Linked DNA regions of Homo sapiens: regions 1, 2, 3 and 4 are each linked to region 5. The links are contacts of gene promoters, found by promoter capture Hi-C in blood cells and fetal thymus (Javierre and others, 2016). All regions are on one chromosome and are shown on one strand. Each heading gives the region's core, a stretch centred on a gene start or on the middle of the fragment in contact. The rest is flanking DNA. Distances are from core to core; before and after follow the strand shown.

Region 1 (2,700 bases), core at 69-2,568, 400 kb before region 5:
GGAATGCTTTTCTTAAGTTTTTGTCTGAACCATTTCATGCAAAAGGGTTGGTTATAATTTTATTGCATTTGGAGAATATGTTTCAGCCTAACCCAAAATAAAAACAATGCAGTAAATACAAAATTCACTTTAGCAGGTAAGGCACCTGAAAGAGATGAGAAATCATCCTCCTAAGGAGCTGACACCGAGGTGTAAGGAGAGGCCTTAAACTGCTGATCAAGAGAAGCACACCCTGTGTATTCAAATGCCTGATGCAGAAAACAAACAGTATTTTCACGTATCACTCTCAAATTAAAAAATACAAAAACAGACATTCAGAAGTGCCAGCTTAATCTGTGATGGAGCAGCTATTCACATGGGCAGCTCCAAGCAGCAACACTCCAGAAAAACAGCAGGGATTTAACAATACTTAATAATTCCAAGGGGAATCTAGCTAGCTTTCAAATAACCTATATAAAATTTGTAAACTGAGAAATTCACGTGAATATCAGAGGATTAAAATCTAAAATACCTACAATCTAGGAGATAAGTTATACAATTCAGTATAAATACTATGGTTTAGATGCTTTTTCAAAAACCTCTGCTCCACAACAAAAATATAATCATGATTTTTGGCACAGAATGTTAGGAGTATAAAAAGTCAGTAGTCAACTATTTCACTTTATTTCTACAAATTACAGCAGATAAATCAATGAGAGAGAGAGAGAGAGAGAGTGTGTGTGTGTGTGTGTGTGTGTGTGTGTGTGCATACACATATATACAACTGCTTTCAGGCTAAGAATTTAATATAATAAATTCCAAATTTATCAAGTTTGCATTTTTTGCTTTGCTATAATGCATCATACATACTGCATCCCAACGTGTAATGAAACAAGCCCTACACCTACTATACAATAAAAATTTACCTAGCTTATCTTAACAACCATCTGCCTGTGGGAAAGAAAAGCTTCTGTGAATCAATTACTATCCAGAGGCAATCATATTTTCTTAAGGAAGTAAAAAGTCACGCTCACACGTGTAGCTCAATACCTTTCCAGGGACCCGGAGACTCTCTATGGCACCAAGATCACTGAGGCTTTCTTGAGGGCTTTTCAGACCCTTAAAAAAATAATAAGATGAGGAAAATTTTAATCATGCTGAAGAATTATAAAAGGATAGAATACACCTACTGAAACAGAAATGACCACTTTAAAAATAGAAATTTTCCTGCTTCAAAATATGGAAGATATATTCTAAAAGCAATCATCATTTAATACATATAGTACTATTATTAAATCAGAGAAGGGTGTACTTTTGGTATTTTAAAATAAAAGAGTATTATACGGCAACTTCACAACTAATGGTAGAAGTCCAACCCATCTATGATTTGAAAACAGCCAAAAGTAAAGAAACTTACATAACAAAAAGCATTCTATAAAAGCCACTTGTATATACAATAATAATTACTAAATCCATCAGGAAAAAAGTCCAAGCAATAGTATTATGATTCACAGATACAATATACTAACCAACTAAGCTAACATATAAGTAATCCCTTCATTTTACTTGATTATTTCCCACCAATGTATCCAATTCATGCTGCATAAATTAAGATTGAAGTCTCATATCTCACTGTCTTTTACCTGTCCTTTAGTTCTTTGGTGCCCTGTACTTTCTATATTCACATCAACTGAGGGATTCTGAAAGCTTTATTTGTACCAGGGGAAATTATTAAAATAGAAAGAAATCAGCAATTTACATTTTCTTTAAAATCCTCTTTTTAAAAATAGGCTATTCGAAGCAGACATTTAATGTCCCTGCAATATTAGTTTTTAGGCAAAATTAGCTATTATTAATTTGAGGAGAGATTTATGATACAAATTGTCCTTTAGGTGCCCTATATTGGGGATCCTTAGTAACCAAAATATATGGTATGCTTATGTTGACTATTTGAGACTCAGAGCAGAACTTGCTTATCTTTAAACTACAGAGATGTGTATTTTCTCTTCCCTGTTGTAAAATACCACTAGTCATATCTAAAATTTTTTATTACAAAGTGCTCTGCCTCAACCGCAAGTTTTCCATTACCCCCAGAATATCTAACCTACCCACCCTTCTCTCCCCGTCTCCCTCTCTCAGGCACACTTACCACTCCAAGAAATGAGAAAGCAATACATCACTTTCAGAATTATCTCCTCTACAAAGTCTTCCTAAATCCCTATGCTCCAAAGAACACAGTATTTCTCAGTATAACCCTTGGATCATGTCCATCAACACCACCCAGGGAACTTGTTAAAAGTAAGATTCCTAGGCCCTAAAATAAACCTAATGAATAGGTTTTTCTAGATTTGGGCCAGGAATGTGCATTTTCCCAAAACAATACCTCAGTAAGACATCTTCCAAGACAATACCTCAGCCAAAGTAGTAAAGTTTTAAATTTTAAATATATCTTTCTCTTCCAAACTTTAAGTCCTAAGGAAAGGGAGAGACAAAGTCCTATTTGCCTCTGCAGCCCAGTGGCTAGCAAAGTTCCAGAAACAGAGTAAACAACAAAGAAATGAGTAAATTATTAGGTAGAAGTCATTGGTCAGGCTCCAATCTCCCACAAATTAGCGCATTGTTCCCATGGGAACATGTAATTGACTGCAAAAAAATTTCTAGGAATGCTCGCTGGAAAAAAAAAAAAGGCCTAAGGAGGTTTAATATGCCTTTCAATGAGTG
Region 2 (2,700 bases), core at 145-2,644, 280 kb before region 5:
GGTCTGCTCTGCAATAAATGAATTTAGCACTTATTGGGGTGCTCAAAGAAGTCCTATCCCTGAAAGACATTCTTTACACTTTAGGAAAACAGGAATGGACAGTAACTCCACCCTTAAAGGCCAGTGAAATATTGACCTAGAGTATCTCCAACCTGGTGCTCTACAAGGCTGGGACTGCAATGTAAACTCATATTCCCAAGGGATCAATTAAGCCAGAATATCCCACAGTTTGTCTATAACAAGACAATGGGGCTTTCTGCAGCCCTCAAAACTCTCAAGTGAGGAAAAATTGTTAAGCCTTCAGATTTTAACCAAGCAGACCAGAAGGTGGTATATAGCCATAGCTTATTAAAAAGCATTTCAGATAGAAAAGGCGGTGCTGTAATTTCAGATCTGAGAAATGAAACTGAAACCAAACCTATATTCTTCCTTCCCCAACCTCCCAGTTGTTAAACACGCCCTGCTGTTTCTGAGCCAATTAGAGCTTGCTGTGAGACAGAAGCAGAGAATACATAGACTTCCGTTAAAACCAGAATGAGGAAAATACTTTTCTCTAGCATCGTAGGAGGAAGAAAACAAACACATCAGATATTTTCAGCACTAAAAGAGATGGTTTTCCCCACATATATGTAAAAGAAATTTGCAAGACTACTGGGTAAGTACAATATCTATTATTAATATTGTTCTTACTATCTATAGCAGCATTTTATTGAATAGAAAGAAATATACTTTTCAATTAGAAGCTTCAAATATACCTCAAAACAAAAAATAGTATTCTAAGCCTAGAAATTCTAGACTATTTGTTGCTCTGACAGCAGTCTGCTTTATATTAGTTGAAAAATTAGTCATAACATTTCATTAAAGATGCAGTTGAAAACTACAGACACTTTTATTGATGAACTCTCCCAAGGCATACAGCATCTTCAGAAAGAACAAACAGGCCAGGTGTGGTAGCCTGTAATTTGAGCACTTTGGAAGGCAAGGACAGGAGAATTGTTTGAGGCCAGGAATTCAAAATTAGCTTGGGCAACATAGCAAGACCCTACCTAGCAAGATTCCTACCAAAAAAAAAAATAGCTGGATGTGGTGGCACGCAGCTGCAGTCTAGCTACTTTGGAGGCTGAGGCAGAAGGATTGCTTGAGCCCAGGAATTTAAGGTTACAGTGAGCTGTAATTGTACCACTGCACTCCAGCATAGGCAACAGAGTGAGACACTGTCTCAAAAACAACAACAACAACAACAACAACAACAACAACAAACGGAAAGATAGATAAAGAACAGGCAATGAAAACTTAAAAGTACTTTACTTTAATCAAATACAACTTCCACCATCTACTCTAAGAAATAGGTAGCTTCCAGAAAACAAAACTCTCTGAGAGCTTCTCAGATATTGTTGTCGGATGACATACATAGGAAGACAGACAGACAGATAGACTACTATGGGAAGTCTTTGGAATTAAGGCAGCTTTATGTTCCTGGCAAAAATACTAGGTTTATGTCTAATTTCTCCCCAAAGCAAACAGTAAGATAATGCAAGACGGTTGGAGGATCACATTTCTGAATAAAGGTCTGACCTTCAACTCCCTTCTAGAAAAGTTAACAAACCCTACAGTTTAACACCAACCAGAGTTAAAAAATGTATGTGGGTTCAATCAGTAACAAATAGTGTTTCCTACTAAGATGCTCAGAACCAAATTTTCAGGTCAGTTTTTAAAGTATACGGAATCAAAACCAGTAATTTTAGGTACTAATTTTACTCCCTCATTTCACCTTTTCTCCCCCTACCCTTATTTAGCCTTCCCCATGATTTCTTTACCTAAGGGTTTTAATATATGTGTGATCCTATATTACTTTCTAAATTACCTAAAAAACATTTTGGAACGAGAGGGTATAAAGAAATCATTAATATGTAAAATATCTATGAACAGTGGCATAAATACCTATGAATGCTGGCATATATTTTCTCCAAGAGTGACATCATCAACAATTTTTTTAAAATAATGTATTGAAAGGCACAGCTATCAATAATCTGACAAAAGCTTTAGGGGAAGAAGTGTGAAAGTGTAACCTGTTCAATGACATTTGAAATATTCATAGTGTCTCTAGTAGAGAAAACAGTCAAAAGTCACTTCTTTATTATTTGCTTACTTTCCCAACCAAATGTTCAGGCCCAGTTCTCCATCCCCCACACTCTTATATGAGAACCTGACTTTACGTTTTCACATATAATGGTATGTAGTTCTTGCATGAATCAAATAATCCATCTAATTCACCAGTCTCATAATCTAGTTTATGACATATCACCAGAGACTAAGGACTGTGTCTGTAAAACTGTGAAAGGTCCAAGTTGATGAAGGAAGTCAGGGAGACCCTAGGAAAAGGGTACTGGTGGGAAGCGGCGAGATGGGGGATGAGAGCCATAGGTATGAGGCCTCAGGAGCCAGCGCACGCTAGCAGCACAATAATCGGGGACCCCTGCTTTATGTGTTAAATAGTGTGGGTGCAACAAAAGTGAGCATACTTTCATAGGGTGGAGTAGACGTGACTCAGTAAATGGATACAAGAAAGTGACTCAGATAGAATGGTTACTAGACGAGGGTGTAGTCAGTTTTTAGACAACTCTAAAACCAGTATTGAATCAACACTGAGTGGGATGCAGAAGTCAAAAGTTCATAATCTGAGACTGCAATAATAAACAC
Region 3 (2,700 bases), core at 72-2,571, 310 kb after region 5:
ATTGAGTGCATAATACAGATCATGCAGTAATGGGAAGAAGGGTTGGAACAATGGTTTTCTGGCCTATGTCAGACTTACCTTGAAGCTTTTAAGAATACAGATGTTCTGATCAACCCTCAGACCTATTAAATCAGACCTAAAATCTTAGGGAATAGGCTTTAGGCATCTCTAATTTTAAAAAATTTATTCAGGCTACTTGGATGCACAAAAGAGTTGAGACCTACTGTCCTAGAATCATAGAATTTTAATGACGATAGAGACCTTAAGCATCTAGGTCGTTTCTGTACTTTTACATGTAAGGAAACTGGCATTCCTAGGCCAGTACCATTGCCATGCAGCTAATTTGCCCTCTTGTCTATAGCTCACTCTGCATCACCCAACCTACCGTTCTCACTGTTTCTTCTATAACCAATCTCCTTCCCACTTCTGTTCTCTTACTCATGCCATTCTTCCCTCAGTCATTTTTCTTCCTTCCATACAAATTCCATGTCTTTAAAAAGGAATAATCCTACCTCCTCCACATAGCTTTCCAATTCTCTGTTGCCCACATTTGTCTCCCTTTCAATACTTCTCTGTTGTGTTATGTGACACATCACATTTGATATACTCTGTACTGTGTTTCAAGTATTGTATTCTCTTGTTTACTCAAGTCATTATTTCAGGACTGACTACCCAGTAGATGCTTTAAGTCAGGATTTCTCAACCTTGGCACTGTTGACATTTTGAGCTGGATAATTTTTTGTTTTGGGGGCTCTCCTGTACATTTTAAGATGTTTAACAGCACCCTTGGCCTCTATCCAGTAGACGCCTGTACTGCCTCCCCCTATCTGTGACAACCAAAAAGGTCTTCAGACATTGTCAGATGTCTACTGAAGGACAAAATCACCTCTGGTTGAGAACCACCGCTTCAACTAAGTTATCTTCTCTGTACTCAGAACTTGATGTGATTGCAGCAGGGGGAGAGGATTCATATACACAGTGAATGCAAACGAACCTAAATCACCATTCGGATATGGCCACACAATTTTCATTTCCCTTGTGTTAGCAAGAGATACCCTAGGCTTTGGACCTGATTATTCCTAAGGCATTCTGATGTATGGTTTTACCTGCAGATTTCCTGGTAATACTGATACCTCAGTTTGGGTCAAAGAAGGTCAATTAATTGATTGATTTGATTTGACTCCTGGAAAAGACGCTCCTTTCTAGCTGTCTCTTTCTTCTCTTTACCTGAATAGCCAGGGCTCTGTGGTTCAAGTGAAGTATTTTGACATAAAAATTAACTTAGAACATTGGTCTGCAGAGTTTGCTCAATATAACTGAGCACATATTGTGGCTTTATGGAGCTGGTTACTACTTTTTGACCAAATAAATAATTAGAAGTATTTTTCCTCCTCAATAAGGTTCATTTTTCCTTTTTTCAGTGAGCTGGTAGAGTTTCCTTTTTTGATATTTCAGGGCATCTTTCATATTTCCATCTCTTAAGTTTCTTCATATGAAGTAGAATTTATCTGGATTATGTATTGCTGACTCTGATGAAAACCCATAGAAAGCATCTGGGGCTTGATCACCTTCATTCTTGTAATAGCTCACACGGTTACAGCTGATATGGTAACTTAAGACTTTTGATTCCAAATCTAGGCAAAATACACTCAGTTGAAAGAATTTGTCAGCCAGAACAGTTGGACTGTTCTGTGAAAATTGTGAGAAAAATTACACAACTAAGTGATACATGATGATGGCTTTCTTAAATATAAAATTGTAATAACATGGTTAATTTCCAGTACGTTATATTGTCCCAGAAGTGGCTCCAACATTGTTTGAAATTTGTCTCATTTAAAGAAACATAAGCTGGCTATGGTGGCTCACGCCTGTAATCCCAGCACTTTGGGAGGCTGAGGCAGGCAGATCACCTGAGGTCAGGAGTTCGAGACCAGCCTGGCCAACATGGTAAAACCCCATCTCTACTAAAAATACAAAAATTAGCCGGGCATTTGGTGGGGGCCTGTAATCCCAGCTACTTGGGAGGCTGAGGCAGGAGAATTGCTTGAATCTGGGAGGTGGAGGTTGCAGTGAGCCGAGATTGTGCCACTGCCCTCCAGCCTGGGTGACAGAGTGAGTCTCCGTCTCAAGAAAAAAAAAAAAAAAAGCAAGAAACATAAAGACTGGGCATGTTGGCTCATGCCTGTAATCCCAGCACTTTGAGAGACTGAGGTGGGAAGATCACTTGAGCCCAGGAGGTTAAGGCTGCAGTGAGCCGTGATTTTGCCACTGTACTCGAGCCTGGGCAACACAGTGAGATCCTGTCTCAGGAAAAAAAAAATTGCATGTAAATGAATGAATTTGATATTTAATATTTTAAATTATGAAAACTGTTCTGTAGAGATGTAGATCTTGCCATGTTGCCCAGGCTGGCTTTGAACTTCTGGGCTCAAACAATCCTCCTGTCTCAGTCTCCCAAAGTATAAAGATTACACATGTGAGCCACTGCACCTGGCCTAATATTTTTAACTTAATGAATTTATTTTGATATAAATAAATTAATAACACTGAAGCTTCCTGATATAATAAGTCTTTTTGTGTGTGTGACGGGTTCTCACTCTGTTGCCCAGACTGGAGTGTAATGGCACTATCATGGCTCACTGTAGCCTCAACCTCCCTGACTCAAGTGATCCTCCCACCTCGGCTTCCTGAGTAGATGGG
Region 4 (2,700 bases), core at 125-2,624, 270 kb after region 5:
CTTGAACTCCTGGGCTCAAGCAAGCCTCCTGCCTTGGCCTCCCAAAATGCTGAGATTACAGGCAAGAGCAACCACACTCGGCCTAAAGCTGATGTTTTTTTCCACTGTACCACATTTTTTTAGGTGCTGAAAGGGAATATAAGAGAAGCTGTCTAGAGATTTTACGTCTTAATTGTCCTTCCTTTATGTTTTTTATTGAAACCTCATTGAGATATAACAGGAGTTATTTTAAATGTCCTGTGATTGTCAAAATGTTTTTTACATTTAAATTTTGAAGATGCAAGATAGAGAATGAAAGAAAAATGCCTTGAGTACAAATTACATGTTTGTCTTCTGTTCTCCACAAAAATTTAAACTTTCTAGGTGCGAGCAAAAAAGAAGAAAAGCAGTGAAGAACGAGAAAAAGCAACAGCAAGTATCTCTTAACGTTTTTACAGACAATAGAATAGGTGTTTTGGTTTAATATAAAATGAGTCATGGTAAAGCTTGATTGGATTTACTGGGACCAAATAAGTATTTGTTGGGAAAGGTGTGGTGTGTTCAGCAGCTTCACTTAATGGGTAGGAGAAAGTCAAAATGGTTCAGGAAAAATAAAAAATACCCTGGTAGCAAGCATGTCCTGTTTCCATTTCAGTATTTTACTGTTAGAAATATAAGCTCAGGGCTGGGCGCTGTGTCTCACGCCTGTAATCCCAGCACTTTGAGAGGCTGAGGCAGGTGGATCATGAGGTCAGGAGCTCGAGACCATCCTGGCTAACACGGTGAAACCCCGTCTCTACTAAAAATACAAAAAATTAGCCGGGCATGGTGGCGGGCACCTATAGTCCCAGCTACTCGGGAGGCTGAGGCAGGAGAATGGCGTGAACCCGGGAGGCAGAGCTTGCAGTGAGCTGAGATCACGCCACTGCACTCCAGCCTGGGCGACAGAGTGCGACTCCGTCTCAAAAAACATATATATATATATAAGCTCAGGTGGGGCACAGTGGCTCACGCCTGTAATCCCAGCACTTTGGGAGGCCGAGACGGGTGGATTGCAAGGTCAGGAGTTCAAGACCAGCCTGTCCAACATGGTGAAACCCCGTCTCTACTAAAAAAAAAAATACAAAAATTAGCCGGGCGTGGTGGCGGGCGCCTGTAATCCAGCTATTCGGGAGGCTGAGGCAGGAGAATTGCTTGAACCTGGGCAGCAGAGGTTGCAGTGAGCTGAGATCGCCCCACTGCACTCCAGCCTCAGCAACAGAGCAAGACTCCGTCTTAAAAAAAAAAAAAAAAAAAGAAATATAAGCTCAAATTTCTGTTTGACTTCCTTAAGCTACAATATGAAATACGAGAGACCAAAGTATGGTGATTTCTGTTATCTTTGATAATAGTTACTTCCAAATCAGCCAAATCTGGTAATAACAGAAAAAGCCTCTCCAAGCACTAGCTGCAATGAAAAAATAATAATATGACAACATAAATGACTCATTAATAAAGATTCTTTTGATAGCTTTTAAAGCCAAACTCTGCTATTAATGCAAATTGAGAAGAAAAGAGAAAGAAGAGGCGAATTAAGGAAAATAGAAGTAGTATCCAAACAAGAAACAGATCAACCAAGAGAAAATGGTTAACAGAGATTATTTTCAAAGAGTAATGCCAACAATATCAGCAAAGTAATTTAGGGGCCCTCAGTATAAATGTGAGCTATGACCTTTGAAGGCATTTTCTTAGGGAAAGGTGAAAGAAAAATGAAAACATCATCATTTGTAGGTTTCAGTAACCCCTTCCCAGAATTTTCCTGACTCTTAAAACGAGGTACCTTCTCTGATAGGAAGGCTCCCCTAGTAATGATTCAGAAATAACATTTTATGTGCTCCAAGCCTACGATGACGAATAAGTTTTTGTTTGTTTGTTTGTTTGTTCTGAATGTGAAAGTAGTTTGGGTGAAGATAGCTTTGGTCTGTGGTTCGGATTAATTAATTAAGACATAACCAAATAAGTATTTGCATACTTTCACTGTTTCATGCTTTCAGCTAGTGTGTATGTATGAAGCAACTCTATGCAGGCACTTTTCTAAGTCTTAAGAGTACAAAAGAGTATGAGATAGAAGAATATGATACGTGAGAGAGATACTGTGGGGACGGGCTCATGAAATCCTCGCTGAGGAAGTGAAATTAAGCTGAAATCTGATTTACAAGAAAGAGCCAACCATGTGAATATCAAAGGAAAGAATATCCTAGGCAGAGGGAAGAGCTCTTAGAGACCTATAGTGAGAATAAGCTTGATATATTTGAGGGACTAAGAGAAGGTAAGTGGCTTAATGCCTGGTGGGGAAAGAGGAATGCCATACAATGAGGGTAGGAAGTAAGCAGAGGCTTACTTACATTACACAGCAGAGTGTGTTTTCATCAGAATGTTATAAGAAGCTGTTCTGAGGGTTTTAAACAAAGAGGTGACCTAAATATTTTACATTTTGTAAATCCTTTGGTACAGGAGATAAGTGGGCACAAGTGAGGAATGATGTTTGTACAGCAGTGATAGTAATGGAGTTGGACTGGCAAGGATGGATTTGAGATACATTTTGAACTTAGATGGTAAGACTTGCTTGGTACTTTGAATGCGGACATTGGAGTTAAAGAGCAGAATCAGAGATAGCTTAGATTCTTTGACCTAAGCAAAATGACAGATAAGTAGTGCCAGTTACTAAGATGGCTGAGGATT
Region 5 (2,700 bases), core at 23-2,522:
GGGTTTCAAGTATTCTACAGATAGAGATTTTGGGGAGAACACCAAATTCTTTCCAAAAAGACAGCTATTTCAAGTTTTCTTTTACTCCATTGTAGAAAGTTTTAAAGACTTTTTTTTCTCCAAAATCTAATTTTCACCTGAAATAATTGTATTCAAGGGTTTCTCAGCAGGTAAAGTATACATTCTTACAAGGTTTCAAATTTCAGATTTCCAATAATGCATTTAAACTGAGCACTCCTCTTTTTGTGTATGTATCTACTATCTGCAGTTCTATTATTTACACTAAATTTTAGTCTTTTTAGCTCCTCTGAAATACGTTAGTGAACCCTCAGCAGTTACTAACCACTTAATAATTGTGAGCCCGCCAGCCCCTTCAAGTAGATCGTTAACCATAAGAGTGCCTGACAATTTCCAAACCATATCCTCTGTCTAAAAGGAAAAGATAGGGCTTTGTGAGGCAGAAAGGAAGCGAAGGAAAACAAAACAAATGTAGCTCATGCTGAAAGTGAAAAGTGCTTGGATAGATTAGTATTTTCTTTTCTGCAAGGCATCCTGCCAAACTTTTTCTTTATTTTTTTAAGAGAAGAGTTATTTTTTGGTCTGATTTTTCAGTTTCTTGGAAAGTATTGGTATTTACCACCCCCATTGGCCGCTCATAATTATTGTTGGTTGTTTTGTGTTTTTCCCATCCGTCCACGTCACACAGTGAGGATGCCCCCCGCTTCACCCTGTCAAAACCCCAACTCTGGGCGACCCTGGGTTTGGAAACTCCGCCGACTCCCGACGACACGTCCCACTCTCTCCCACTAATGCCGCTTATTTTAGTCGCAGGATCCCCCTACTACAGTTTCAGCGAAAGCCGGAAATTTTCATTTAACTCTCCCCCCCACCCCCACCCCCACCGCGCCCTTCTAGCCCCCGACTCGTAGAAGGGAGCTAGGGAGCCCGGAGCTCGGAGCACTGCCGGGACTCGGCCGCCTCATTTCTCTCCGGAAGGCTTTAATTTGCACACTTTCTTGCCACTGCGCCACGAGCCCCCAGCCCCGCCGGGGGGTGGGTCTCCGGCAGAGTTGGCTTCGCGGGTCCCTGCCCCCACCCCGCACGGTCGCCCCAGCTGCCTCCCCGGCTGGGGCCCCCAGCGCCGGCCGGAGCCCAGCGGCCCCCGTCCGCCCCCAGCGAGCGGCGCGGGCGGCGCCCTCCGCCGTCCCTCCGCCCTCCGCCGCTGTGCCCACCCCCTCGCCGGAGAGAGTGCTGGTAACTCCTTCCCCAGAGTCTGATTACCTGCTCCGCGAGGCCGCGGACACGTGCGGAGAGCCGACTGACACTCGCAGCCCCCTCGGGAGGCCCGACGCGACTGGGCCCCTCAGGTGAGGAGCTGTGCGCTCGGGTGGGTGGGCTGCGGGGTGGGGGGTCCCGGGGGAGATCTGGGGGATTGGCCGGGGTCCGAGGCAGAACTGTGGGTGGGGTAAGTGGAGGGTGGCGGGGGGTGGGGGGGACCTGTGTTTCCTTGGAATCGGCTTTGGTTAACCCCTTACGAACTGAGACGGGATTGGTTATGGGGGCCAGTTTTGGGGAGCTAGAGGATTCTCCTTATCTGATGAGAGGGGGAGATCCCAGCCTAGGGACACCCGCGACACCGAGATCCTGCTTCCACGTATCCGTACGCACACACACCCACACGGAACACGCCTCATACAGTTTCTCCAAACGGAACTGGAACTCTACTCGGACACTCACATAATAATTCACATTTAGGGTTTAAAATGCACTGCCTCTAGGGACTCCATGCTGGAGAATGTGCTTGCATTTCCCCCTCGAAAACTCCCTCTCCAGCTCGCTGAGGTGTGGGTGTGGGCTCCACCTTCCCCTCCACGAGATAAATGTTAACGCAGGCTTCCTGCGGGCGTGTTATACACAGAAAAGTGCACGCAGCCGGCCAGTGCCCAGGCTTGGAGCCCCGCGAAGACGCACGTTTGCTGTAGTTTCCAAGTTTACTTTTATAATTTAAAATATTGGAGTTAAACACACGCCCCGCAGTGAGCAGCCCTGGTCCCCGCAGCGCGCCCGTCCGTGTGCATATGGGCGCATCTGCGTGTGCGCACACGCGGGAGTCGCGGTCCCCGGTGTGGCCTCTTGTCGCTGTGCTGGTGGCGACCCTTGTGGTGCTTGGCAGGCTTCGGGAGAGGCGCATGAAGGATTTCATTGAGTGTGAAGACAGAGAGCAGAGACAGAAAGCAGAAGGAGGCGGCTGCAGCCTTTGTAGTCGCGGAGGAATGCGGAAATGTTGAAGCACTATGTCAAACTTTTTTTGAAATGGGGTCAAGTCACATTCAGCCAGCGTGGGAAAGCAACAACAACAACAAAAAAAAGTGGAGGAGAGGGGGGGAAAAGGCATTGCTGCTCCCGTTTCTCTCCGCCGAAGCCGACCGTCTGGGGGGCGAGTGGGGGGAGAGCCAGGGCAGTGCGGGGCCCGGCGGGGGCAGCAGGCGCAGTTCCCTGCGGGGGTGGGACGTCCCCGACGCTTCCTTCGCTGCGGAGCCCGGGGCTAGACTCGAGCGGGAGGGGGTTGGGGGGATGCAGGACAGGCGGGTTGGGCGGCCGGCGGCGGCTCCCCGGCTACCTGTGTGGCCCTCGACCTGGCTCAGACCCCCGGGCAGTCCCTGGGGGCTCTTTCCTCGGCTTTTAAGGAAAGTTCTGAAT

Evidence for each region. The method cuts DNA at HindIII sites, captures the fragments that hold promoters and counts their contacts. A CHiCAGO score of 5 or more calls a contact.
Region 1: a contact is called between a fragment that was not itself captured here and the fragment with the promoter of CDK6 in region 5, in 2 of 17 cell types (neutrophils and fetal thymus). The highest score is 5.4, in neutrophils.
Region 2: a contact is called between a fragment that was not itself captured here and the fragment with the promoter of CDK6 in region 5, in 13 of 17 cell types (fetal thymus, monocytes, erythroblasts and 10 more). The highest score is 16.8, in fetal thymus.
Region 3: a contact is called between a fragment that was not itself captured here and the fragment with the promoter of CDK6 in region 5, in 1 of 17 cell types (fetal thymus). The highest score is 9.3, in fetal thymus.
Region 4: a contact is called between a fragment that was not itself captured here and the fragment with the promoter of CDK6 in region 5, in 2 of 17 cell types (activated CD4 T cells and naive CD4 T cells). The highest score is 5.9, in activated CD4 T cells.

What each region holds. Positions count from the first base shown.
Region 1 is chr7:93,238,264-93,240,963 of GRCh38, reverse strand. It overlaps VPS50 (VPS50 subunit of EARP/GARPII complex), which reads right to left. Exons shown (of 28, transcript NM_017667.4): 2 at 1,030-1,098. Among named protein-coding and RNA genes, the nearest start is that of VPS50, 7.2 kb to the right of the region's middle. The HindIII fragment of the contact is 740 bases long and covers 949-1,688 here.
Region 2 is chr7:93,115,818-93,118,517 of GRCh38, reverse strand. It overlaps SAMD9 (sterile alpha motif domain containing 9), which reads left to right and starts at 539. Exons shown (of 3, transcript NM_017654.4): 1 at 539-655. The HindIII fragment of the contact is 1,297 bases long and covers 746-2,042 here.
Region 3 is chr7:92,523,713-92,526,412 of GRCh38, reverse strand. All of the region lies in intron 1 of PEX1 (peroxisomal biogenesis factor 1), which reads left to right. Among named protein-coding and RNA genes, the nearest start is that of PEX1, 3.5 kb to the left of the region's middle. The HindIII fragment of the contact is 2,467 bases long and covers 88-2,554 here.
Region 4 is chr7:92,563,725-92,566,424 of GRCh38, reverse strand. It overlaps FAM133B (family with sequence similarity 133 member B), which reads left to right. Exons shown (of 11, transcript NM_152789.4): 10 at 364-411. Among named protein-coding and RNA genes, the nearest start is that of FAM133B, 25 kb to the left of the region's middle. The HindIII fragment of the contact is 1,774 bases long and covers 488-2,261 here.
Region 5 is chr7:92,835,145-92,837,844 of GRCh38, reverse strand. It overlaps CDK6 (cyclin dependent kinase 6), which reads left to right and starts at 1,272. Exons shown (of 8, transcript NM_001145306.2): 1 at 1,272-1,367. It overlaps CDK6-AS1 (CDK6 antisense RNA 1), which reads right to left and starts at 1,362. Exons shown (of 2, transcript NR_110088.1): 1 at 1,282-1,362. RefSeq lists silencers at 970-1,329, 2,440-2,689 and an enhancer at 1,780-1,859. The HindIII fragment of the contact is 6,850 bases long and covers 1-2,700 here.